Linked DNA regions of Homo sapiens: regions 2, 3, 4, 5 and 6 are each linked to region 1. Evidence: promoter capture Hi-C in 16 types of primary human blood cells and fetal thymus (Javierre and others, 2016). All regions are on one chromosome and are shown on one strand. The core of a region is centred on a gene start or on the middle of the fragment in contact, and the rest is flanking DNA. Distances in the headings are between cores, read along the strand shown. Region 1 holds the start of NKX2-2 (NK2 homeobox 2). Region 2 has its middle 32 kb from the start of LINC00237. Region 3 holds the start of KIZ (kizuna centrosomal protein). Region 4 overlaps KIZ (kizuna centrosomal protein). Region 5 overlaps KIZ (kizuna centrosomal protein). Region 6 has its middle 32 kb from the start of KIZ-AS1.

Region 1 (4,266 bases), core at 908-3,407:
CTCGTTGGGGCGGCGCTCACCAAGTCCACTGCTGGGCCTGGACCAGGGGGTGTGCTGTCGGGTACTGGGGGGTGCTGGCCGAGCTGTACTGGGCGTTGTACTGCATGTGCTGCAGCGACTGCGCGCTGTAGGCAGAAAAGGGAATGCCCGCCTGGAAGGTGGCGGCTGCCAGGTCCTGGGCTTTGAGCGCGTGACATGGTTTGCCGTCCCTGACCAAGACGGGCACGGCCACCCGGCGCGGCGAGGGCAGGGGCGTCACCTCCATACCTTTCTCGGCCCGGGCGCGCTTCATCTTGTAGCGGTGGTTCTGGAACCAGATCTTGACCTGCGTGGGCGTGAGGCGGATGAGGCTGGCCAGGTGTTCGCGCTCGGGCGCCGACAGGTACCGCTGCTGCCGAAAGCGCCGCTCCAGCTCGTAGGTCTGCGCCTTGGAGAAAAGCACTCGCCGCTTTCGCTTCTTGCCGGCGTCCCCCCCGCCGCCCGGGGTCTCCTTGTCATTGTCCGGTGACTCGTCGGCCGAGGGCTCCGGGGACTTGGAGCTTGAGTCCTGAGGGGGCGCCCCGGCAGCCAGACCGTGCACTGGGGGGAGGGGGAGAGAGAAGCGCGTCAGGCGTCTGGAGGCCGCGCGCAGCCTGCACCAGACTCGGAGCACCCTGGATCCTCCGTGCGACCCTGGACCTCCGCGCCTGGCAGCCCAGCCCCGCTGCCTTTGCCATGACCCCTGCCTTCCTCTACGCCTGACGAAGACGTCGGGACCTCCCAGGGTAAAGAGGGAAATCCGTAGGAGTGGGGGCTAGGGGCTCGCCTTTCAAGGGGCTCACATAGTGTGGGTGAGAATTTGGGGGGGGAAGTGGCACTGAAGATCATCGCGGGTTAAGGGCTCCGGCGCCCTTAAGCGGTTTCCTCTCCGGCGAGACGTGGGCAGATTTTTAAAAGAAATACCCCACAATCCCAGCATTGATCGGCTCGGCCATTTAAGGCAGGTTTTTGGGGGCTTTCGTTTCTGCTTTCGGGCCTTCTAGACACCCCCTGCACTGCACAAAGCGTCCTCTATGATCGCGCAGGGGGCAGGGTGAGCTATTTATACCCGGGCCACCCGAAGCCTCCCCACCCTCCACCCGTACCCGGACGAGGCTCGCTGGCTACCTCCAGGGCGCCAGGCCAGTCCCTCCCAGCGGCCGGAGTCCGGGGGCTGCGGCTGGAGCCATCGGTCCGGGTTGACATCATATACCAGCCCCTGGGAGGTATAGCCCTTCTCCCTCTTTCTCCTTAACTTCTCGCATTGAAAAAAATTTTGGAGACCAAGTTCTTTCCCGGAACTAAGGAGGCTTGAAGAGGAGGGCAGAGGACATCCTATACAGGTGTTAAAAATCTTTCTACGGATCCGAGTGAGGGGGTCCGGGCTTACATGGCCCCTTCCCCTTTCACTCCCAGCGTCCAACCCGGGCTGCGGCTGCAGGAATGGAGGGGACCACGGCCTCGGCAGCCAAGTTTTGCTACTTACGGGAGTACTGAAGGCCCTCGGTGCTGGCCAGCCAGCGCGTGTACGGGTTGTCGCTGCTGTCGTAGAAGGGGTTCTTCAGGGGCAGGCTCTGCACCGCGTCCAGGGCGCCCTGCCCCAGCGGCCCGGCCCTCTTGGCTGGCTCGGGCCCCTCGTTCTCTTCCTCCGGACCTTCGGCCACAGAGCCCTCCTCATCGTTGGTGTCCGGCAGGTCTAAGATGTCCTTGACCGAAAACCCCGTCTTTGTGTTGGTCAGCGACATGGTTCGAGACCCCAAAATTTATGTCGCAAAGTTGTAGCTTCACTTGGTCAATTCGTGGCGCTCCCCTGCCCCGGCGGGCGGGGGAGGGGGGAGTTGGGGGGAGGGACTGGGGGAGGGGAGGGGGGAATTGGCTTTAATTATTGGGATAATTATTATTTTTAAAAAGAGAAAGAAACTGGGGATGGGGAGGAAAAAAATGAAGCCCAACCCAGTGCCTCTCTCTGTCTTCTTTGAAAGCACGCGGAAATGGACGCAGGAAGCCGGGCGGCCTGCGCGCCGAGCGCCGCGGGCCCCGGCCTTAGTTTCTAACTCCAGGAGGGGTGCCAAGGCGGCGTCAGCTCGGGCTCCGGCGGCCGCTCGGCGCGCGGTGGCGGCTGGTGGCGAGGAAAAAATGGGCCATTGCCCGAGCGATCAGTCCATATAAGGCTGGGCTCCACTCACGAACCTGGGGAGGCGGGGAGAGGGGGAGAAAGAGAGGGAGGGAGGGAAAGAAAGAGGGAGGGAGGGGGAGCGAGAGAGGGAGCGGGAGAAGGGTGGAAAAAAGGGGGAAGAGACATTAAAAACGCAAAGGTTGGCCACGTGTGGGCGGGTCTTGGGAGTCAAGTGGATGAAGACAGTATTTGCAGATGTGAAATTGTGGGTTTTGGGGAGCTCCGCGCTCCCAGCCAACGGCCCTCTAGAGCAAGATGAGAGGTGTAACGTGTCAATTAATTGCAAAGACGGGGCGAGCCTTTTTTTTTTTAAACCCAGTATTTACATACAAAGGGCCACCGCGTCGCTCGCGAGTCCACACACTTGAAAGGGCCGTTTTAACAAATTGCATCTTAAAAAAGGTGGGGGTGGGGAGGAGGAGGGGAGAAAACAAAACAGAAACCAGGAGGAGGGAAAAAATCCTCTTTAACATTCACCGGTTCCTACCTCCCCGCCCCCGCGCGCCCACCCCCGGCAAGCCGGAAAATTGGCGATTTGTGGCGCCTTTGGAAAAGGGGGAGGGGGCGAAGGCCGAGCTGCGGAAATCTCTCCTTTCCATCGTTGGTGGTTGCCTAAACAAGATCCGGTTCAAATGGCAAGAGCCCAACTTCTGTAAGCCTCCTAGGTCAATATTTTGGTTGAGGCTTAAGGATGAGTGCTAGAAATGACAAGGCAAGTAATTGATTCCAGTTAACCGCGAGAGAGCCCAAAACCCAGGAGAGAGCTCCGCTCCGGGCCGGCCAGAGCCACCACCAAGCGACCCGCCCCCTTCCAGCCGCCCTTTATTTGCTAAAGACTCATTTATTTCCTTCACTCCGCCTCCCCCCACCTCCCACCCCCAACCCCCCGCCTCCACCTCTCTGCGGCCAAGGAGGACGCGCAGTTCACTTTCTGCTTTGCGGGCGGTCCCGGGGAGGGCGGGGTAAGAGTGAGGAGCTCCAACTTCGTCTGGGGTCGGACCCTGGCCCTGCTGCCTCTGGGCTCTGCGGGCCTCTTTCCCCGGGTGGAGGAAAGGGCAGACGGCCCTGCTCTTTCCTGCCCTCTATTATCCCTCCCTCTCCGGCCCCCTCCCTCTCCAGCCTCTGGCTAGAGGTGGAGCAGCGGGAAGGCGGCGGGGCGGGATTGCGGGGGTGGGGGTGGGGGTTGTGTCTCCAGCCTGGGTGAAGACCCAGAAAGCTGCGGGGGAGGGGGGTCGCTGGGTGGCCCGACGATGCCTCGTTTTCTCCCCAGTTTTCTTCTCCCACGCGAGTTCTTTAGTGTGGTCTCTTTTTGGACGCCTTGGGTGCGTTCGGAGTACGCGCTCCACGTTTCCAGGTTAAGTCAGGTTAGTGTGAAGTTTCCAGCCACTCTCGGCTCTGGGAACTGAACTTTCCCGGGACTTGCACTTCCTCCTCGGCGCTGGGGTTGGAAAAGACCACGCCGCATTTGCCACCCCTTCTTCTAGTTAAAACTTTTTTGGGGGGGGGGTGCAGGGGTGTAGATTGGCTACCTGATGCTCGTTCGCCCCAGAGGAGTGTCAGGAAGGAGCTTTGTCTGGGGGCGGGGAGGGGCACAGAAGGCCACCCCTGCGGGGTCCAGGTCTAGTCTTCCCACAACCTGGGCTCCTCCGCGCGGGCCAAGCTGAGCGCGCGGGCACCGGGTCCTCCTCGCGCGCAGCTGCAGCGGACGCCGCCGCGCCCCAGCTGCCCCCGGGTTGCCAGCGCTGGGTGAGGGCACCTCTCCCCGAGCCGCTCGGCGGCTTTCTGCAGCCCTAGCTGCCTCGCCCCCAGTATGTGACGTGGGTGACAATGGCCCAGGTTAGAGCAAGCCCCTCGTCGGCGCGTCCTGGGTGGTCGGACCCGGGCAAACACAAATACAAACCGATTGCTAAGCTGCGGACAATGAGCGAAATGTAGACAAATGTCCCGCTCCCGTTGGAAGCCTTTGTCCCGGCTCGGTTTTTGCATTTATTTCAGTGGCGAAATAATACATGATTGACGCTCTCTTTCAATGTGTCCTAACTGTTTGGAATAAATCTAAGGTTGTTCCTAGT
Region 2 (4,266 bases), core at 840-3,339, 440 kb before region 1:
AGCATTGATGGCCCTCTCACAGGCTCTGTCTTAGGTTGGATTCTCCAGAAGCGGGCCCTGAGATAAGGTTCATGTGAATGTGGCTTACTAGGACCCAACCCCAGGAAAACCTGGTGGGAGAGTGGGGAGCAGAACCAGGAAGGAGGCCAAGCCAGGTGCAGTTTCAAGCTCATCACCAGGGAAAGTGACTTTGCTTCAGTCCACCCAACACGGGTCTTTCCTCACTGTGCCCAGACCAGGGCAAGCACACTACAGTGTTTATAGCCCTGCTCCATCTGGCATTGTTAAGGGGGACCCCTAAGGAGACATAAATTCCAGGCACTTCTGGTGAGCATCAAAGGTGAAGAACCCTAAAGGCAGACTGTGGACAGAGAGATGCAGGCAATGGCTTTGGGGAGCTAATATGTATGGGAATGCCCTGGCTGACATAACCTTGTCTGTTGCAGTGTCCTGGCTCCTAACTCAGTCTGAGCAAATGAAGGAGAATCAGGAATTTGAAGGAAGTTCTCTAATGTCTTCCATTTTCAGCCTTAGAACAGTGATGGGCTTTAAAGCAAGGCACCTCTATGCAGACGCTTGTCTACCATGTATAGATCATGACATCATAGGCAGGACATCAGTTAACTGTTTTGTTTTGTTTTGTTTTGTTTTGTTTTGTTTTGTTTTGTTTTTTCAGACTGAGTCTCACTTCGTCGCCCAGGCTGGAGTGCAGTGGCACAATCTTGGCTCACTGCAACCTCTGCCTCACGAGTTCAAGCAATTCTCCTGCCTCAGCCTCCCAAGTAGCTGGGATTACAAGCGCCCGCCACCACACCCGGCTAATTTTTGTATTTTTAGCAGAAGCGGGATTTCACCGTGTTGGCCATGCTGGTCTCGAACTCCTCACCTCAAGTGATCTGCCTGTTGTTTTAAGCCACATTTTCCTCATCTATAACTGGAGATGACACTAGTTCTTATAGCAGAAAGCTTGGCTTAGTGCCTGGCATAGAGTAAGTGGCCACACAAGTTCCTGTCATTATTACTATTGTGTTGTTGTTGTTGTTGTTGTTGCTTAGAGACAGGGTCTCACTCTGTGGCCTGGCTGGAGTGAAGTAGAGAAATCACAGCTCACTGCATTCTCAGATTCCTGGGCTCAAGCCATCCTCATGCTTCAGCCTCCCCAAATAGCTAGGACTACAGGCGCACACCACCATACCCAGCTAATTTTTATTTTTACTTTTTGTAGAAACCGGGTCTCACTATGTTGCCCAGGCTGGTCTTGAACTGTTTGCCTCAAGCAATTCTCCTGCCTCTGCCCCCCAAAGTGCTGGGATTACCAATGTGAGCCACCTTGGTTGGCCCCTATTATTTAGCAGAACTTTCCTCAGTGTCTGGCAAACAAGACCTAAAGGACTTTGAGCTGCTTAAACAACCACTAGAAAGCACCTTAAGAAACAAAGATGCCCATGTATTTACTATTTATATAAAATACATAAACAGGAGGAAATCACATAAATCACAAGCTGCTATTTCCCTTAGAATCTACAACAACCATATTATTTTATGAAAAACTGGACCATATTAAATTACTCAGGCCTCGGAAATTTGTAAACGTGTACAATTCCGCATTGGAAACAGCCGTTTATATGTACTGTCACTTAAAACACAAATTATGGTTATTGTAAAAGATTTTAATTCACATAAATTTACGGGTAAAAACCACATATCTAGGAGAGAACTACTCAGGGCTTGCCACACATATAAAGAGGCTGCCGGAAGTCCCGGCAGCTGGTTACCGTCTCTTATGATGACAGGGGCTGGGTAGGATGGAGGATAAGAAGGGAAGGTGCCAGGTGCAGCGGCTCACACCTGTAATCCCAGCACTTCGAGAGGCCAAGGCGGTAAGATCACTTGAACCCAGGAGTTCAAGACCAACTGGGCAACATAGTGGGACCCCATTTCTACAAAACGAACAAACAAATAATTAGCTGAGGTGGTGGCATGCACCTGTCGTCACTGTAGTCCCAGCAACTTGGGAGGCTGAGATGGGAGAATTGCTTGAGCCCAGGAGGGCAAGGCTGCAGTGAGCCATGATTGCACCACTGTACTCCAGCCTAGGTGACAGAGTGAGACCTTGTCTCAAAAAATATATATAATTTGTAGCATCTGCTACAAATGTTTTTAAAATGTACTGTGACTCAGAACATGGTGAAATGTATGATTATGTGAATCCATTTTAGAACCCAACTTTTATTACAGGAAGCAGAATACCTTGGAACGTTATTACTTCTAAAACTTTTTTCCATGAAATGAACCTTGAAAACTATGCTCTATCTAATAGGTCTCTGGACAATTATATATAATCATCTTTCCTCTTAGAAAGAACTACTTTTTAATCCAGTTCTCCTTATCCACATGACAAGTCCATCATAACTTTGACACATCATATACCCTGAGCCAGTAGTCTAATGTATCATAAATTAATGCCAGCACCAATACAACATTTTGATCACCATATCTGTTACAGAAAAATCTAAATGTGTTAAAACCATCTGATAACTCTGCCCTCAAGTTTTCCAGGCCATTTAATTATTAAATTTCCCTTGTGAAAGGGATCTGTATTGTATGCAATTCAGACTTCGGTGGATGGCAAGGGTTTTTTTCCTGAGGTCACCAGTGCTTTTAACCACTGCCTAAAGAGCATCCTGTGCTGATTAACATGCCTCGGATTAACTAGATTTCGCATGTGGCAATCATACTCCATTCAGCAGGGCCCATCTCTGGTGAATCGTGGACATTAATGACAGTTGCAAGAGCTCAAATATTATATAATCACTAATTACATTCTGTGCAATTAGTGGAGGCTCATCAGTGTGAATCACTAATGGCTGATCACCCTGTTCTCTCTGGGAAGAAATAGACGGTCTGCATAATTTTCTGATTGTATTAGCATAGACACAAACGTTATTAACGAACTTTGGCGACCATGAAGAGGCTCGATGCCTGTGATGGACAAAGGCAAGAGGCTCCGCTTGATGGGCACAGACACTTCATTTTGAACATGAGCACTGTGTTTGTGGTTTTCTGGTATGACTCACTCACTCCTCACCTTCTGAATGGAAACTGCACGCAACATCTTGGCCACTCAGCCAATAAATAACTTGCACACAAGTCCAGTTTAAAAAAAAAATAACTGTGGATTTGTATTTTTCTTAAATCGGTTTTCAGAGAGCCAAGCTTTAAGAATTGTGGGACATTTAAATATATAGCTGGTGACTAAATAGGAGAAACACCTCTGAAATGGTAGAGAGATTATCTGAATTTTATTTAACCCTCTGTATGTTGGGCCACTATATTAGTTTGCCAGTGCTGCCGTAATAAAATATCACAGTTTGGATGGCCTAAACAATAGAAGTTTATTTCTCACAATCCACAGGCTGAAAGTCAGAGGCAAGTTTGGCTTCTCCTGAGGCCTCCTCTCTCCTTGGCTTGCAGGTGGCTGTCTTCTTGCTGCGTCTCCACATGGCTTTTTCTCTGTGCGAAGGCATCCCTGATGTCTCTCTGTGTGTGTGGGTTTCCTTTTCTTATCAGGATATAGTCAGATTGAATTAGGGCTCACCCATATGACTCACTTTATCTTAATTACCTATTTATTTATTTATTTCTGAGACAGGATTTTGCTCTGTCGCCCAGGCTGGAGTGCAATGGCGCAATCTCGGCTCACTGCAATCTCTGCCTCCCAGGTTCAAGCGGTTCTCCTGCCTCAGCCTCCTGAGAAGCTGGGATTACAGGCACATGCCACCATGCCCAGCTGATTTTTATATTTTTAGTAGAGACAGGGTTTTGCCTTGTTGGCCTGGCAGGTCTCGAACTCCTGGCTTCAAGCGATCCGCCCGCCTTGGTCTCACAAAGTGCTGGGACTACAGGTCTGAGCCACTGCGCCTGGCCTTAATTACCTCTTTAAAGGAGCTATTTCCAAATACAGTCACACTCCGAGGTACTGGGACTTGGGCTTTGACCTATGAATTTTGGGAGAACACAAATCAGCCTACAACAGCAGAATGTTTACAAACTACAAATATTCTAACCCAAGACGTTCTTGCTGGAAGACTGACAACGGGCTTGACTACATGAACATCTTAAGGGTGTCCTTTGGTGGGGACCTACACTGTCCAAAATGGTAGCCAACAGCTATGTGTGGCTACCATGTTCAATAGCCAATGTGACTGTTGAACACTGACATGTGGTGAGAAACCGAATTTTAACTAATTTAAACTTAAAAACTAA
Region 3 (4,266 bases), core at 977-3,476, 390 kb before region 1:
AGCTAGGTGACTTTGGCCAAGCCCCTTATCTGCCCTGAACCCTTTTTCCCCTGTAAAACAAGGGGGTGGGGCTAGACTCCCTCTAAGTTCTAGCTAAGACATTCTAGGACTTAGAGGAAGCCTTGATCTAGGCAGACTTGATGACCCTTGGTCCAGTGAGCTAAAAGCAGGGCTGCTTACAGAAATCAGCTCAGCTAAATAAAGAGTTTGAAGAAAAATATTAAAATAGAGGGCTCTGGCAAATTAAATATTCAAAGTGAAGAACTCAGAATTTATTGAAAGCCTGTCACCATTTAAAATGCATAATTTTAGCATAAATACTCTAGAAATATTCCTTTTGTTTGCTATGTGTTATTGTTAATAAAGGAGATCCTACATCTAGATTTGTCATACGTCATTAATGAATCAACCATAGGATGTAAATTATAATTATTTTGAATTATCTATTTACTGTTTAATTACATTTAATTTTAGATTCTCCTAAAATGGCCTAATAAAAATTTTGGGTGCTAAATGACTGCCTCATCTGCTTACTCTGTGCTACTTGCTAAAATTAGTTATATTAATTGTTTGGGGATTCTTTTTCTTAAAAAAAAAAACTAACCCTGGGGGCATGGTCCTAAATAAAATATCCTAAAAATTTAATGCTTTTCTTTTCTTTGCCAGGGTTGTAGTAAAATGTTAGTTACACTAAACTCATTAAAATAAACCTTTGCACATTACCACTGAATCAATTGGATATAATCTGAATAAAAACTAAATAAAAGTCACATCAGTGCTACCCTTGGACCAGGGCAAGAAGGCCTCTGCCCTGGCTTCTGTGTATTAGAGGTTCTGTTCTAGCCCTTCTCTGCCCATGCTGCTCCACGCAAGGCAAGGAGGTCCCAGGGCCAGATGACAGGCCCACCTGGGGTGCTCACACACATACACACACATGCTCTTCTAGAACACGTTCTAAGTACCCAACACCCTTACCTTCCCTGCTCAAAGGGGCCCAAGCTGCTTTCTAAGGCTTTAAAAGGCCTCTTGGCTGGGTCTTTCCTGCAAGGGTGACCATCACTGGCATGCTCACTGCCCGGCCAAGAGGAGGCTGAGGTGGGGATGTAGGCAGAGTTGGGACTTGCTGGCTGGAGAAGAGGAGGAGAAGAGGCAGGGCACACACATCCCTGCTAGTGTATGAGACCCCCTCACAAAGCAAGACTGAGCCTGGGGTGGGAAATGGAGTTGGGGGGAGCTGGAGAAGCAGGCAAACTAAATTCCACCCTGGTTGTCCAGGTTCTTAAGAAGGCATATTGGTCAAAGTGGAGAGGAGAACACGTATTTTACCTAAGTTTGTTATCTTGAATTATAATTCAATATTTAGGCGGATGGTATGAGGGCCTCCATTCACACTCTTGCCCTGGAACTGGCAAATGTGAATGGAAGGCTGAGTAAAATCATAGTTTTGTGTTGTTGGCCTTTGAGTGTTCCATCTCTCTTACAATTTTAGTTTGTCACACCTTGCACCTTGTATGTGTAAGTAAAATTAATGGCATAGGAAAGAAACCAAAAGAAGTGAACAATAAGAGACTAAAGAAACTCTACAGGCCGGGCATGGTGGCTCATGCAAGTAATCCTAACACTTTGGGAGGCCAAGGTGGGTGGATCACCTGAGGTTGGGAGTTCAAGACCAGCCTGGCCAACATGGTGAAACCCCGTCTCTCCTTAAAATATAAAAAATACCAAAAAAAACAAAAATTATCTGGGTGTGGTAGCGCACACCTGTAATCCCAGTTATTCAGGAGGCTGAGGCACGAGAATCTTTTGAACCCGGGAGGCAGAGCTTGCAGTGAGCCGAGATCACGCCACTGCACTCCAGCCTGGGCAACAGAGTGAGACTCTGTCTCAAAAAAAAAAAAAAAAAAAAGGAAAGGAAGGCAGAGAAGCAGGCTAAGGCTTAATTTTTCTGCCCAGTGGGTTTTGAAATATGGTTGGCTTCCTTCAGGAAGCTTTTTCCCGACGTTGGTGATGATAATAAAACCTGATGCTTTCTATGTGCTGGGCCCACTTATAAACACTAACACATATTAACAATCGAATCCTAAACTAATCCTGTGTTAACAGCCTCCCACTTTACATATGAGGAAACCTGGGGTGACTTGCACACGGCTTGGCAGCTGGGACGTGGATAGGGAATGTACACCCAGGCAGTCTGGCTCCCGGGCTCCTGCTAGAGGATCCTACAGGACATTAGGAGCATTGTCCCTTAGAGCTGTCTGCACAAACGTCTGCTTCCCAAGCAACTAGTTATCAACTTTTCCCTCTCGCCAACGATACTGGCACCTGGAACAATCCTTAGATTCAGCACGGATTTTCGAGTAAGGGGTTGGTCCACTGTCGGGGCTGAGCACGGCTGTTTAGCATTTGAGGGTTTGTCTTTTTTTACTTGGTGTTTTGTGTCGCTTTTGAGTGCTGATATAATAGAACAAGCTTAGTACAGTGCCTGGCACTCAACAAATCCTGGCAAGAAAGGAGATCGAGGAAAAGAAGCAAGCGAGAGACGAAAGAAAGGGAGGGAATGCGCCTTGTAACATTAACGTAGCTTGTGCGAATCCTGGAAGGTGAGGGGAAAGGAGACACCGCGTCAAGGGAGAGAGGAGAGGGCACCGAGCGCCCGCCCCTCCGACGTGGTCCGCCCCGGCCTCACGACGCCCCGCCTCTGCCACGCCTCTTCCCCGCCCCATGCAGGTCTTCGTCCCGCCCCCCACAAAGCCGGCTTCCGCCCCGTCCCTCAGCGGCGCCCCGCCCCCACGGCGTCTTGCCCCGCCTCCTGCAGGCGGCCCGGCGCGGTGTTTACCCGCGGTGCATGGTGGGGCGGTCTCCTTCGGCAACCCCGGCCGAACGGCCACCCAGAGGCTGTGCTGAGCTGGCGCAGCGGCAGCAGCATGAGCCGGACCCTCGCATCGGCCGTGCCCCTGTCGAGTCCCGACTACTACGAGAGGCTGGGCCAACTCCAGCACGGGCTGCGGGACAGGTAAGGGCACTGGGGCGGGGGTGGGGAGTCGGCCCGCGCCGGGGGTCTTCCGCGTGCCCTGCCCCATTTTCCTTCCCGCTCCCCCGTCCGAGGTTCCCCGGGGCCCAGGCCCGCGCGCAACGCCCCCCAGGCTCCCAGTGGGGCCTGGAGGACAGTGTTTACTAGAGCCACCCCCTGTATTGGGGGTGGGAGCGGAGAGAGGTGAGAGACCGCCCCCGCCCCGTCAATAGCAGCTAAAGCCTGGTCTACGGTTTGAGGATGCGGCCGCGTCACAGAATTTGCCCAGAAGTGAAGGTGGGAGTTCTTCTGCCTGTCACTCTCCATCAAGCCTTGTGAGTTTCTCTTGTCCCCTTTTACACGCCCCCTCCCCACTCTCTTCAAATTGCCATCCCGCCGTGACAGCTGCACTGCATCAATGATGACAAGTCCTGGAACGCAGACGGTTGTGTGTGTGTGTGTCAAACATGTGCCCCCGTTTAAACTCAGGAGACTTTTAGGGGTAGCGAGGGCTGGCTAGATTTCCAGCGAAGGGATGAAATTTCCAGCTAGAGAAGTCCAGCTTCCAGAGGGTTCATGATGCCTTTGATTAAGATATGAAAGATGGGAACCACTGAAAACAGCTAGATCTAAGAGTGCATATAGAGAGAAAATTATACCGCAATGTACTATGAATAACCACGTAAAAGATAAATTGCTGGACCTCTTATTTAGCTGCTAAGTTAATTGGAGTTGTAACTCTCATTAGTTGACAAGAAAGGAAATACATTTTTGGATCTCTTGATAAACAAAACATTTAATGAGTGTTAAAAGTTACAAAATCATTCTAGTGAACAGGAGAGCTGTGTGCGTGACAGTGCTAAAATGATAACAATAATTACATGGAAAATAAAGGCAGAAGTGAGCGATTTTGAAAAGGAATTACATTTATCTTACGCTAGATTTAATTCTTGTCAGATATTTATAGAGCATCTACAACAGGCTTCCTTAATTGTCGTTAGCATTTTTTTTACCTTGTACTCCTTTTCTACGTCCTATTTTCTTTCTGACATGTCACCGCTCACCCATATCAGTGACCTCTTAATTTCTGACTTTAAAAAGAAATCTCTTCCTGTAGAGCCTTCCCTGTTTCAACCCATTCCCTAACTTTTGTGACTCTTGGCATTCTTACAGCACTCATAAATGGCATTCTTTTTGAACTATTAATTGTAAGTTATTTTTGTTTCCTGTGCTAGGAACACCTGGCTGTTTATAGT
Region 4 (4,266 bases), core at 953-3,452, 330 kb before region 1:
ACTTTTATACTGAATCTATTTTGAATTTGGGTTGGAAGCTTTAGAATATTACCTTAACCTACAAGAGAGATGTGAGGAATAGTTCTGAGTCCCCTATCTTTTATGGCTTTCAACTATTTTTCTCACTTTTTTTCTGACGGTTTTCCTTTGTCAGTGTAAATTCATTTTGATTTGCTTGTTATTTTGATGGACTGGAAATGTGTTTTTAAATCTGAAAACAGTACTAGTTTCAAATTTGTTTTCTTTACTGTAGTGATTCTCAGATATATTTTAGTAAAATTATTCTACCTTTTTTTTTTTTTTTTTTTTGAGACGGATTCTCACTCTGTCACCCAGGCTGGAATGCAGTGGCATGATCGCGGCTCACTGTAACCTCTGCCTCCTGGGTTCAAGCGATTCTCCTGCCTCAGCCTCCCGAGTAGCTGGGATTACAGGCAGCCACCACCACACCCGGCTAATTTTTGTACTTTTAGTAGAGACAGGGTTTTACCATTGTTGCCCAACAGGGTCTCGAACTCCTGGCCTCAAGTGATCCACCCACCTTAGCCTCCCAAAGTGCTGGGATTACAAGCGTGAGCCACCACGCCCAACCCTACTTTTTTTTTTTTTTTTAAACAGAGTCTTGCTCTGTTGCCCAGGCTGGAGTGCAGTGACGCCATCCTGGCTCACCACAGCCTCAACCTCCCAGGTTCAAGCAGTTCTCCTGCCTCAGCCTCCCGAGTAACTGGGACTACAGACGTGTGCCACCATGCCCTGCTGGAATTATTCTACATTCTAAGTTCATAGGAAAATTAATCTTTGAATTTTGAGAACCGTCTCAAAATTGGTTTACTAAAACTTGGGCACCTGCTATATAGTTTGCCTACTAGAAGATAATAAAATGAATGAGAGTACCAAATGAAAAATAATGGAAAGTATGGAAGTTGCTGATCTCGACAGATTCTTAAATCATGGACGTATGTGTTAATGGTTTGATTTTTATATTGTGTACATATATTTATTGTTTACTAGTAAAAAATGTTCTAATTTATGTGATAAATGGAATATATCAATACTTCATGGCAAAAATTTTTGTGAATTTCAGGTGTTCTGCCACCTTAAACGTTGAAAAGCACTGCTTTCCAGGATAGCCAAATCCCTAAAAGAATTTCTGGTCATGAGACTGATTATCCTTACTGATCAGCTGTGTCACACATCACATGGACATATGATGTCCATGTGATGGACTGGACTGGGCATGGTTGTTTTAGGAGCATGACTGGCATCTGTAATCATGAGTACACTTGGAATCCGTTTCTTCCGTTTCGAAAAGTCCACTTACCCGGAATTGGGACTTGTCTGACATCCCCTAAACTCTGACACTGACAAAAGAGGTCATTGCATCTGGTTCCCAGCTACTTCCATACTTTCCATTATTTTTCATTCGGTACTCTCATTCATTTTATTATCTTCTAGTAGGCAAACTAGATAGCAGATGCCAAAGCTTTAGTAAACCAATTTTGGGAAGGTTCTCAAAATTATAAAGAGTAATTTTCCTAAGAACTTAGAAAAGACCACTTTACTCAAATGTAGAATAATTCTACTAAAATATATCTGAGAATCACTACAGTAAAGAAAACAAACTCAAATCTAACAGGCTGTCCTAGGAGAGCCAGTTAGCTTTTGTTGTTTTCTTGCTTACATCCCGCCTTCCCTTCTTCCACACTTAATCCATTTATCCATTCATAATACTTGTTCTTGTCCACTTTCATTTTTCTTATTTCTTCTTTTTGTCTTTGGCTTCCTCTTAGCAGCTTCTTAGACAAACAAGCACTTGAATAATAAATTGATTCAGCATCTTCAGTTTAATACAGGGCAGGTTGAGCATCCCAAATCCCCAAATCCAAAGTCCGAAATGCTCCAAAATCTGAAACTTTTTGAGTGCCAACATGATGAATGTTTATTGGAGCATTTCAGATTTGGGATACTTATATTCCAAAATCAAAAAATAAAAATTAAAAAAAAACACAATTCAAAATCTGAAAAAATTCAAAATCCAAATTCCCAACCATTTCAGATAAAGGATACTCAACCTATATTGATCCTCTAAGGGTTCAACAGCAAACCAGCCCAATCCTTTCAGCCATCCTATATTTGGTGTCTACCATGCTCAGGGAGCAGGAGGCATGATATTCATAAGCCAGGCATTTCACTGTTATCATGGAAGTAGACCCCGAGCAAAGTCAGAACCCAGGATGGGACCTGCCCTACTCATCTGAGTGCCCCCTCAGTGGAGGATAACTCTGTACTAGACCCATTCCCATTCATCAGACTAAATTGGCCTCTGTGGAGACTCACTTATCCTAGAGAAGTGACATGGCAGCTTATTTCAGGGTCTCAGCATTGCCTGAGCCGAAATTCAGTAAGCCTATCCACCGTGCCATCATGCCTTCTTGTTTCCCTTCTCCCTGAATCCGCTCACCTAGTGTAACCCTCACCAGCCCAGTCTGAGCCTCCTCGTCTCCTCTCTTAAACACACGTGTATATATGGATAGAAACAGACAGACAGACATGGAACAACACAGCAGAGTCTGATGTTTTGTTTTATGGTCCTGCGTCAGCCGTTAATCCTCACAAAGATAATTCTACCTTGACAACACCAGATACCTTTTCATCATCATCATTTAACCTCTAGAGTTTAATGATAGAACTGATTATAATGTCTAGTAAATTCTTTATGATATGTTTGTAGTATTTTAAAACTTTTTGAAAATACAGAGCCTAATTGTATTAAATTTGGGGAAGGCATAAAGTTGTATGATAATAAGACATTTACCCTCGTTGGGCCTCAGAAAATGACACCCCAAAGGGAAGGCCCCAGAAGTAAGTTTCTCTCTGATCTTCTCCCACTCTCCTGTACCTCAGCCTCATTTTCTCAGAGGTAAGCTTTAGAAACTAGAATTCCTTTTCCTCAAAGTGAATCATAAAAACCTGAACCCATTTTCCCCAAAGCCAGCCATAAAACCTAAAAATATTACTCGAATTTCCCTCCTGTATTTCTGTGGCAGAGTTGGCCGTAAAGAAATTCTCTAACCTACCCTGTTTGATTGTGAGTCGTAAGACTCCCCATTTCAGAAAGGGTCCTGCCCCATACCAGGGAGGAAGGAACACTGCACAGAGACGCCAAGAAGAATGAACAGACAGGCCTGGCAGAGTTTCCCCACTCAGTCTGTTAGCATTCAATCATACTTACCTTCTTGGCCAAGCACAGTTCTACATGGTTGTCTGTTCTTCACTGAACTTCAGCATAAAAATGGAAAGTTTTCCCAATATCCTTAGGTCTTCAATCTGAAGGCTGCCATGTCACAGAAAACAATGATCAAATAAAATTTGTTTTGTTTTCTTCTGTTAACCTGTTTGTTATAAGGGTGTTGACTGTGACCCTTATGATGAGGAGGAAAGGGATCACCCCTTCTGACCCTACACCCTCCACATTTTTTTTTTTTAGTAGATATTTAAAGCGGTCACTTTAGGTAGCTGGCTCCATAATAAGCCCTGGAGATCTGTTTTGCATTTTATTTTATTTATTTATTTATTTATTTATTTATTTATTTATTTTTGAGACGGAGTCTTGCCCTGTCACCCAGGCTGGAGTGCAGTGGCACGATCTGGGCTCACTGCAAGCTCTGCCTCCTGGGTTCACGCCATTCTCCTGCCTCAGCCTCCCAAGTAGCTGAGACTACAGGCGCCTGCCACCACGCCCAGCTAATTTTTGTGTGTGTGTGTTTTTTTGGTAGAGACGGGGTTTCACCGTGTCAGCCAGGATGGTCTCGATCTCCTGACCTCATGATCCACCTGCCTCGGCCTCCCAAAGTGCTGGGATTACAGGTGTGAGCCACCCCGCCCAGCCTGTTTTGTATTTTATTTTAAGAGACGGAGTCTTGCTATGTTGCCCAGGCTGGTCTCAAACTCCTAGGTTCAAGCAGTCCTCCCACATTGGCTTCCCAAAGTGCTGGGATTAGAGGTATGAGCCACCATCCTGCATGCTGTTTATGCATCTCAGTTGGAGAACTCAGCCAGCACCCTAATGACTTCACCCTTCTATGGCTGCTGATTTGGAAGAAACCCAGGGAAGCAAGAGTAAATTTTCCCAATCTTTACCTGTCCAGTCAGGAGGATTTTTTCAACCTGAAAAAAACAGAACCCCTATTCGGTTAAAGGGGTTAAGTTTGGGATCCATAGAATTACCAAAGAGAGAATGCTATTCATTTCATAAAGGATGTCTGC
Region 5 (4,266 bases), core at 1,767-4,266, 300 kb before region 1:
CAGAGGTCCCCTGTCCACTGTCACTTCAGTCATTTACCTGTTGTTCAACATTTGTTTCTAATTTTTCCTCTAGTAAAAAAGTTTCAAAGAATATCTGTGCAATTCAGATTTTACAAATATCTGTAATATTTTCTTAGAACGAATTCCTAGATATAGAATTAGTAGGTCAAAAGGTGGGTATATCTTTCAGGCTTTTGCTATGCATGGCCAGATCTCACTCTGGAAGGGTCATCAGAGTTACCAGTAATGGATGAAAATAACATTTCTCTGAGTTCTTTATGAAACTAGATACTATCAGCTTTTTTTTTTTTAGGGGCAGCAATTTGAGAGATGAAAATGACATCCAATTTTTTTTGTTAATTTGACCTTTTTATTACAATTGAGGTCAAACTTTTCTCTACCTATTTATTAGCTATTTGTATTTCTTTTTTCATAATTTGCCAGCTCATGTTCTTTGCTCATTTTTGTATTAGGTTAGTAATATTATTTCTTATTGACTTGCAAAAACTTTTTAAATATAAATTTGGACATTTTGTTGCAATCTTTTTAGCAGTTTAATTTTTGTCTTTTAATTTTCTTAATGGTGTTTTGGATACAATGTCTTTTCTATTAATGTCTTACATCTGTCTGTTTATACATTTGAATATCACAACCGTAAGTTTTTGGATATAATTTAAGAGTCAGCTTAGATGATTCTTGGGGTTCTAGATAGAGCAAGATTAATATTTAAACTGAACATGGAGGAAAATTCTAGTAGAACTGGGCTAATAAAGGAATAGTACTGTAGGTGTAACTCATAGAACGATTTATCTGCCATAATGTCTGAAATATGGAGGTGTCAACATCAGTCATTCCACAAATAGTTTGTGCCCTGGCATTTAATTTCCAAGTCCTTTCTCCTGGCTCCTGGGGAGGCTGAAAAGTGAGGGGGTGGTTTGTTCGTACTGACTTAGCCTTCAGACTGCTGAGACCAATGGAACAATCTCTAGTTTTCTCTTCTGGCCTCCGAAAAGAGAGCCTTTATTAATAACAGGTAAGTTGAAACCCAAGCATAGTTCAATCATAAGCACTATCAGAAAGCCTGTGGTAAAATTGTTGTCTAATGGCATTTTTTTCAGAGAATTAGCTCCAATTTGCAGAACCCATTTAGTCCCAGCATGAGATGTAATAAAGCAACCTGTTAACTGTTCTCTGAGCTTCTCTCTGTGTTAGTGTCATCAGTCTCAGACTGCAAACTCCTTCAGATTGGAGGTTTCCTTAGAAATACACTTTTCTGGAACATCTGCAAACAGTACATCTTGAGAATGTGTTACAGACGTTTTCCTGACTGCAGAAGTTGTTTTTGCAAGGCACAGTGGCTCACGCCTATAATCCCGGCACTTTGGGAGGCCCAGGAACGCAGATCACGTGAGGACAGGAGTTCGAGACCAGCCTGGCCAACATGGTGAAACCCCGTCTCTACTAAAAATACAAAAATTAGCCTGGTTTGGTGACACACGCCTGTAATCCCAGCTACTTGGGAGGCTGAGGCATGAGAATCACTTGAACCTGGGAGGTGGAGGTTACAATGAGCCAAGATCCCGCCACTGCACTCCAGCTTGGGCAAGAGAGAGAGACTCTGTCTCAAAAAGAAGTTGTTTTTGACTAGAAATCTGTGACCTGTTCTTGTCTATCCTTGTCTGAGACTAACTTTTGTCTTCGTCCCTGCTTATCATCTTTGAGAAATTATCTGTGGAATTATCTTAAAAGATGTGTTCTTTTATAAACATTTCTATCAAAAAAGTAACAGAAATCCTGGAGATAAGTATTGAGTAGTGAAGATAAATGGGATAAAATACAGATAGTCCCTGACTTCCAACTTACAATGGTTCAACTTACAATTTTTTGATTTTACAGTGGTGTGAAAGTGTTAGGCATTCAGTGGAAACCATACTACAAGTAGTACAGTATCCAATAAATTACATGTGAAAATCAACATTTTATTATAAAATAGGCTTAGTGTTAAATGATTTTACTCATTTGTAAGCTAATGTAAGTGTTCTGAGCAGTTTAAGGTAGGCAAAGCTTAACTATGATGTTCAGTAGGTTAGGTGTGTTAAATACATTTCTGACTTACAATTTTTTCAATTTGTGGGTTTATTGGATGTAACTCCCTTCATAAATTGAAGGAGCGTCTGTGTACAAAGTAAATTGAACTAGCAGTGCAGTATGCCCACCACATTATTTACCTCACCGTGGAAAAGAGGGCTCAGTGCAGAACTGTTGGCAATGGCAGTATTCTTGTCAAGCCTACAAGGACTCATTAGAAAGGTGTTTGTAGTAGATTCCAGAAGCAGGTGCAGTGCAGTGGTCTGTGTAGGCAGTTGGGATGGGGGCAGTGATGGGAACCAGCCTTGGCCTGGCCTTCAAGGGCAGGACCCTACCCCTAGACTGCAGAAATGGGAATACTGAGCAAGTCATCCCAACAGAGTTATCACAGTGGAGTGAAATCTAGGGACTAGTTTCTAGAAATAGAGGAAAAGCCCCTGGTCACTAGAACTGCACCACAGAAAGGTCCTGGCTGCAAGGCTAACTTGACACCAAGTTCTTTGGCCAAGGGGACTAGAACTCCTTAAATCCCCCAATCAGCTACTCCAGCTCCTCAGGTAGGCCATGGGTCCAGGTCAGCCAGTACTAGGGAGGGAAGAAGGCAAGAACTCTGCAGGGAAGTCAGGACTAAAGGCAGTTGCCTTGAAGCGTCTGAAATGCCAAACATGCAAGACCAGACCTTCCATCCAGACCTTCTGTCCGGGCCTTCTTACCGGGCCTTCCGTCCGGGCCTTCCGACCGGACCTTCCATGCTCTGACTCTCCCTGTCGGAGTGTCTTCACCTTGTTTCATGTTAATCACAAGGAAGGTTGTTTTTTCCACCTTGTTCACTGGATAGTTACATTGTTAACACTTCACTCTTGGCTAATGATGACCTGTGAACATTTGTCCACTTCTGCTCTTTATATTAATTTTAAACTGTCATGTGCATTTTCCCACAATTGGGTTGAACACTACCCAGTATTTACTGTCATTGTCAGCTACCTGTGGGTCACCACCACCACCGAGGTTTCCTCTCCAGCTACCTAAGGAAATCGCCACCTGTCAATAGGAAATGAGAGAAACATACACTCTGGCAGCGGGATAATGTGACCAATGGTTATCTACTAAAAGTTTAACTCTTATTACCAGCATATTTGTATTTCTTAGGGGAAAGTACTGACCTGAAAATCAAAAGACTTGGCTACTAACCCCAGTCCTGTGAATTGCCCCTTTTTCTCCACCTCTAAGGTTGGCTCTGATAAAAACCTGTGTCCTCCTCCTTGCTCAGGACACATGAGGCATTTAAGTAAGACAATGCCTTTGAAAAAAGATAGGCAGTGTGGTGGGTGAGTTTCCCCAGATCCCCAGACGACTTACAGGCAAAGTGCAGACCATCTTAGTACTTGATTGAAGATTGGGATTTAGAATAAGGGCAGTTATCTTTCTTCTCAGTGCATCCTCTTCAGCCACAAATTTTTCTGCAATCTTCCTGTTTAGGGGAAATTCATGGGTCATTTTTAGGAGGGTGGGGATATGGCAAGGTCACATCTTTCCGGATCTTTTTCTCAGTTGAAAGTAATTCTGTCTGACATGCCTAGAAAATAGGATTCATGTAATCAAAGAATAAATTTTTCCTTCAGAAAGGAGGTCTGAGGCTCTACCTTTTGTATATATCGAAGGGAGGATAAACCTGCCCAGATTAACAGAGGTGGTCACGTTTCATATACATACTTAACAAGCAGAAGAATATTTCTGCATTACATAAGATTCAGCCCTCAAAAAGTGTATTATTGTGAGGGTAACTTGTAAAGAATTAGATTATAGTAGAAAATAACCAGGTGTTTTTTTTCTTGACATTTTAATTTCATTTAAATGTGGGAAACAGATTAAATCCTAAGTAAAGCTTAACTTAAAATTATATTTGAAGGCTATCTTTGAGACCAAGAGGAATGTGGCTACAGTTTGTTTTTATTTCTTTGTGCTTTTTTTGAAACACTGTAGGCAACAGCATTATTGAGAAAAGCCCTTACAGAAGAGTGTGGCCGTAGGTCAGCTATTCACAGTAGTGAATCATCTTGCAGCTTGCCATCTATTCTGAATGACAATAGTGGAATAAAGGAAGCCAAACCTGCTGTATGGCTCAACAGTGTTCCTACAAGGGAACAAGGTAACTATTGTTAAAGTGTGTGTCCACAG
Region 6 (4,266 bases), core at 957-3,456, 260 kb before region 1:
CTCTCACCTTGGATTAGGCAACAGTTTCTTAGATATGACCGCAAAGCCTTAGATGTGGTTGCAAAAGATACCACCAGGAAAGTTAAGGCCAGGTGCAGTGGCTCATGCCTGTAATCCCAGCACTTTGGGTGGTCAAGGTGGGTGGATCATTTGAGATCAGGAGTTCGAGACCAGCTTGGCCAACATGGTGAAACCCCATCTGTACTAAAAATATATAAAGCCAGGCGTGGTGGCACGCACCTGTAGTCCCAGCAACTCAGGAGTCTGAGGCAGGAGAATCACTTGAACCCAGGAGGCGGAGGTTGCAGTGAGCCAAGAGAGCACCACTGCACTCCAGCCTGGGTGACAGAGTGAGACTCCCATTTCAAAAAAAAAAAAAAAGAGTGAAAAGACAATCTATAGAATGAGGAAAGTATTTGCAAATTATACATCTAAAAATGGACTTGTATCCAGAAATACATAAATAACTCTTATGACTCAATAATTTAAAAAACCCCGATTTTGAAAATGGGCAAAGGATCTGAATAGATATTTCTCCAAAGAAGATATACAAATGGCCAATAAGATGCATGGCATCATTGGTCTTCAAGGAAATGCAAATCAAAACCACAGTGAGGTACCCCTTCATGCCCTCTAGCATGACTGGAATCAAAAAGTCAGGTAACAGAAGTAGTGAGGAGGTGGAGAAATCGCTGGCAGGGATGTGAAATGGTGCAGCAGCTTTGATAAACACTCTAGTAGTTCCTGAAAAGGTTAAACATAGAGGGATTATGACCTAATGATTCTACTCCAAGAGAAACAAAAACATATCCACACAAAAACTTGTACAGGAATATTTATAGAAGAATTATTCATAAGAGCCAAAGAGTAGAAACAACCCAAATGTCCATCACTTATAAATGGATAAACAGAATATCCATACAGTAGAATATCATTCCTCAATAAAAAGGCATGGAGTACTAATCCATGCTACAACATGGGTGAACCTTGAAAACATTATTCTAAGTGAAAGAAGTCACTCACAAAAGACCACATAATGTCAGATTCATTTCTGTGCAGTGTCTAGGACAGGAAAATCCATAGACAAATGAGTAGTTGTCTAGGCCTGGGGTCGGGAGAGGAGTGACTACTGATATGAGGGATTTTGGCAGGGATAATGAAAATGTCCTAAAATTCATTGTGCTGATGATTGTATAATTCTGTGGATACACTGAAAACCATTGAAGTGTACACTTTAAATAGGTGAATTATATGCTCTGTAAATTACATGTCAATACTGTTTAGAAAAAGGAAATTGGTAATTCATACATCTTGGGGTGTAGTGACTACAGGCAACTCTTGGTGCAACACTTTCTCACTTTTAAATGGTCACTTTAGTCAATGTCAGAAGTTAATTGTGCAACTCAGGAGCCTGGGACTCATGGTGGGTCATGTGACTACTCTGGCTTCCTTTGAGCCCTCAGAATCTCTGAAATTGAAATGATTTTTAAAGCATTGTGTGTATTTTGTTTTTAAATCACCTCCTGCTTGTCACTTACCTACTCAAGAACTTGGGAGATGTCTTTGATTCACTCCTTTATTCTCCCTTCTTTCCACTCAAATTACCAAGGCCTTTCCTATCTCTTCCCTGCCATCATCACCATCCCCATCTGAGCCTTCACACCTGAGTTTCTGCAGCAGGTGTCTTGATATTGCCCTTGGCAACTAAGAAAAATCCTGCCATGGGTTTCCTTTTTCTTTCTTCTTAAAAAGGTATAACTTGGGTATTATTAATTTGCTAATAATAAAATAGCTGCTATTTATTGAGCACCCTATTATAACCCAGACACTTTGCTTGCTCAGCATAGAAACCAACTCAAAGCTGATGTAGAGACTAGGAATCTGCATTTTTAGTGATTCCTGTGGGAATCACTGTTCTAGAAAGACAGCTATCTACTATGAGGAAATAAATCCAACTCTGAAATCCATGTTTTTATCCATTTGATGGGAGGCAAGGAATGTTGGCTGTTTGGTTTTTTGTTGTTGTTGTTTGTTTTGTTTTGTTTTTTGTTTTTCTTCATTATGTTGTTCTGGCTTAGTTGTTCTAATAAAATATTTCATTCTTTGGTTTTTAAAACTTTTAAGCTTTATACTACAGCGTTATTTTTCTATATTCTCTCTTCCCTATCCACAATTATTAAATAATGGGAGTTGACTCTAATGGTAATTCTCCACATAAATAAAGGGGGTACTTTATGGCTCAAAGCACACGATGGAAAGATTTAGAATCACGCTATTTTAGGACTGGAAAAGCTTTTAGAGATCACATGGTCTTTGAATTTTAGAGTCAAAAAGGACATTATTCATCAAAACTTCTCATTTTAGAAAACTTGGTCAAAAGTGATACATAAATATGGCAGCTAAGTGAAGAGCAATATAGATACTAACTTGTCAGTAGACACTAAGAAGACAAAGAGAAGCGTGCCTGGCAAGGATTGAAGTTAAATGGAAAAATGTGGCTTGCATTGGCCAATGCAATGTGAACACAAGTAACCAATGCCACTTTTGGTTAGAAGCTTTAGTGCTATGTGTGATTCTCTCCTCTTTCCTGCATCAGCAGCCATGGCAGCATGGGACAAGTGGAGCCTCCATCAGCCTGGCTGCATCAGTGACTAGGAAGAGCAGACCTCCCCTGCTAATCATGTTTGCACCACTGGAATTGGCAGGTTGTTACCACAGGAAAATTCTGGTCTATCCTGACCAATATACTATTCTTCCATTTACGTATACTCTTTTTTTTTTTTTTTTTTTTTTGAGACAGAGTCTCACTCAGTGGCCCAGGCTGGAGTGCAGTGGCAGGGTCTCAGCTCACTGCAACCTCCACCTCCCAAGTGATTCTCCCGCCTCAGCCTCCCGAGTAGCTGGGATCACAGGCATGCGCCACCATGCCTAATTTATATATTTTTAGTAGAGAGGGTTTCACCATGTTGGCCAAGCTATTCTCGAACTCCTGACCTCAAGTGATCTGCCCGCCTCTGCGTCCCAAAATGCTGGAATTACAGGCATGAGCCACCACGCCCAGCTATTTATGTATATTCTGATTAGGCCACGTGTAATTTAATTTTGGAGTGGTGAGACTTGCAAGGTTTCCTAAATGCTCACTGAATAAACATTACACCTTTGAGATTTTTTTAAAGAAAATTTGATTCTGAATAAAGAACATATTTTTTCCTTTTTCCAGTTAAGAACCTCAAGTATCTGTGGTTAGACTATTTCTAAATGAAGTGGTAACAATTACAGTTGCAGAAGGTGAGGAACAAGTTGCACACCTTGGGGCAGGGATTGGGGGACATTTTTAGAACTGAGCTGTGGTAGTCAATAAACGGGAGTCTGTTGACAGGAAAACCTCCAGAAACCACAGCCTGCGGGGAAGCCCTCTGTGGTTTCTGGAAAGCAGGCACAGCATCTGGAGCATTTCCCTGGGTATTTGTATGTATCTCCACTGGAAAGTAGCAAATGAACTGGGTTCCTCCAACCATCTGACCCAAGAGGTAGAACTGAATTCTCCCTCCTCCCCCCATTTCTAATGTGGGCTGGACTTAGTGACTCACTTCCACAGAATAGAGATGGAAAGGGGGAAATAGTAATGGTACAGTGGAGAAACCTGCCTGACACCACCTTACGTGATGAAGGTTAACACCCATGAGTCATGACTCGTGTGGATATCTGGAACCCTGACATGCTGCCGGGAGACGGGCACTTCTCCTCTATAGTGTTCTTTCTGAAAAATCTTAACCACAGCTTAATCATGAAAAATATCAGATAACCTTGGGACATTTGACAAAACACCCAGCCATTACTCCTCAAAACAGACAGTGTCATGAAAACCAAGGAAAGACTAAGAAACTTTCACAGACCAGAGGAGAAAGAGACATGACAACTAAAATGCATTGTGGGGCCCTGGTGGGATCCTCGAACCAAAAAAAGGACATTCACGGAAAATCTGGTGAAATGTGAGTAAAGTCTGGAGTTTAATATTAATGTACCATGTTGGTTTCTTAGTTTTGACAAATGTGCCACAGCAATGTAAGATGATAATATTAAGGGCAACTGAAACTGGGCTAGGGGTATATAAGAACTCTGCATTATCTTTGCAACAAATCTAAAATTATTCCACATAAACTAACCTCCATCAATAAATGTTATTGACACTTGGGTGATACCCTTTCACACTTTTTCTGTGCACATATGCTTTTTCATTCTCTTAAACGTTTCTATTTTTAATCT

The links. The method cuts DNA at HindIII sites, captures the fragments that hold promoters and counts their contacts. A CHiCAGO score of 5 or more calls a contact.
Region 2: a contact is called between a fragment that was not itself captured here and the fragment with the promoter of NKX2-2 in region 1, in 1 of 17 cell types (neutrophils). The highest score is 6.1, in neutrophils.
Region 3: a fragment that was not itself captured here is called in contact with the fragment with the promoter of NKX2-2 in region 1 in 2 of 17 cell types (activated CD4 T cells and naive CD4 T cells); the score reaches 7.9 in activated CD4 T cells.
Region 4: a fragment that was not itself captured here is called in contact with the fragment with the promoter of NKX2-2 in region 1 in 1 of 17 cell types (M1 macrophages); the score reaches 5.0 in M1 macrophages.
Region 5: a contact is called between a fragment that was not itself captured here and the fragment with the promoter of NKX2-2 in region 1, in 13 of 17 cell types (neutrophils, monocytes, M0 macrophages and 10 more). The highest score is 8.5, in neutrophils.
Region 6: a contact is called between a fragment that was not itself captured here and the fragment with the promoter of NKX2-2 in region 1, in 10 of 17 cell types (M0 macrophages, megakaryocytes, erythroblasts and 7 more). The highest score is 9.5, in M0 macrophages.

Annotation. Positions count from the first base shown.
Region 1 is chr20:21,511,907-21,516,172 of GRCh38, forward strand. It overlaps NKX2-2 (NK2 homeobox 2), which reads right to left and starts at 2,158. Exons shown (of 2, transcript NM_002509.4): 1 at 1,505-2,158; 2 at 1-579. The coding sequence starts at 1,763. The coding sequence ends at 17. RefSeq lists an enhancer at 3,855-4,266. The HindIII fragment of the contact is 7,883 bases long and covers 1-4,266 here.
Region 2 is chr20:21,072,094-21,076,359 of GRCh38, forward strand. No RefSeq gene overlaps it. Among named protein-coding and RNA genes, the nearest start is that of LINC00237, 32 kb to the right of the region's middle. The HindIII fragment of the contact is 2,250 bases long and covers 965-3,214 here.
Region 3 is chr20:21,123,192-21,127,457 of GRCh38, forward strand. It overlaps KIZ (kizuna centrosomal protein), which reads left to right and starts at 2,891. Exons shown (of 13, transcript NM_018474.6): 1 at 2,891-3,013. The coding sequence starts at 2,925. RefSeq lists enhancers at 2,360-2,459, 3,360-3,409 and a silencer at 2,620-3,199. The HindIII fragment of the contact is 481 bases long and covers 1,987-2,467 here.
Region 4 is chr20:21,185,119-21,189,384 of GRCh38, forward strand. All of the region lies in intron 6 of KIZ (kizuna centrosomal protein), which reads left to right. Among named protein-coding and RNA genes, the nearest start is that of KIZ-AS1, 31 kb to the right of the region's middle. The HindIII fragment of the contact is 1,442 bases long and covers 1,482-2,923 here.
Region 5 is chr20:21,210,464-21,214,729 of GRCh38, forward strand. It overlaps KIZ (kizuna centrosomal protein), which reads left to right. Exons shown (of 13, transcript NM_018474.6): 8 at 4,072-4,237. It overlaps KIZ-AS1 (KIZ antisense RNA 1), which reads right to left. Exons shown (of 8, transcript NR_109956.1): 2 at 3,448-3,559; 3 at 3,073-3,129. Among named protein-coding and RNA genes, the nearest start is that of KIZ-AS1, 5.7 kb to the right of the region's middle. The HindIII fragment of the contact is 1,909 bases long and covers 2,063-3,971 here.
Region 6 is chr20:21,247,919-21,252,184 of GRCh38, forward strand. No RefSeq gene overlaps it. Among named protein-coding and RNA genes, the nearest start is that of KIZ-AS1, 32 kb to the left of the region's middle. The HindIII fragment of the contact is 168 bases long and covers 2,123-2,290 here.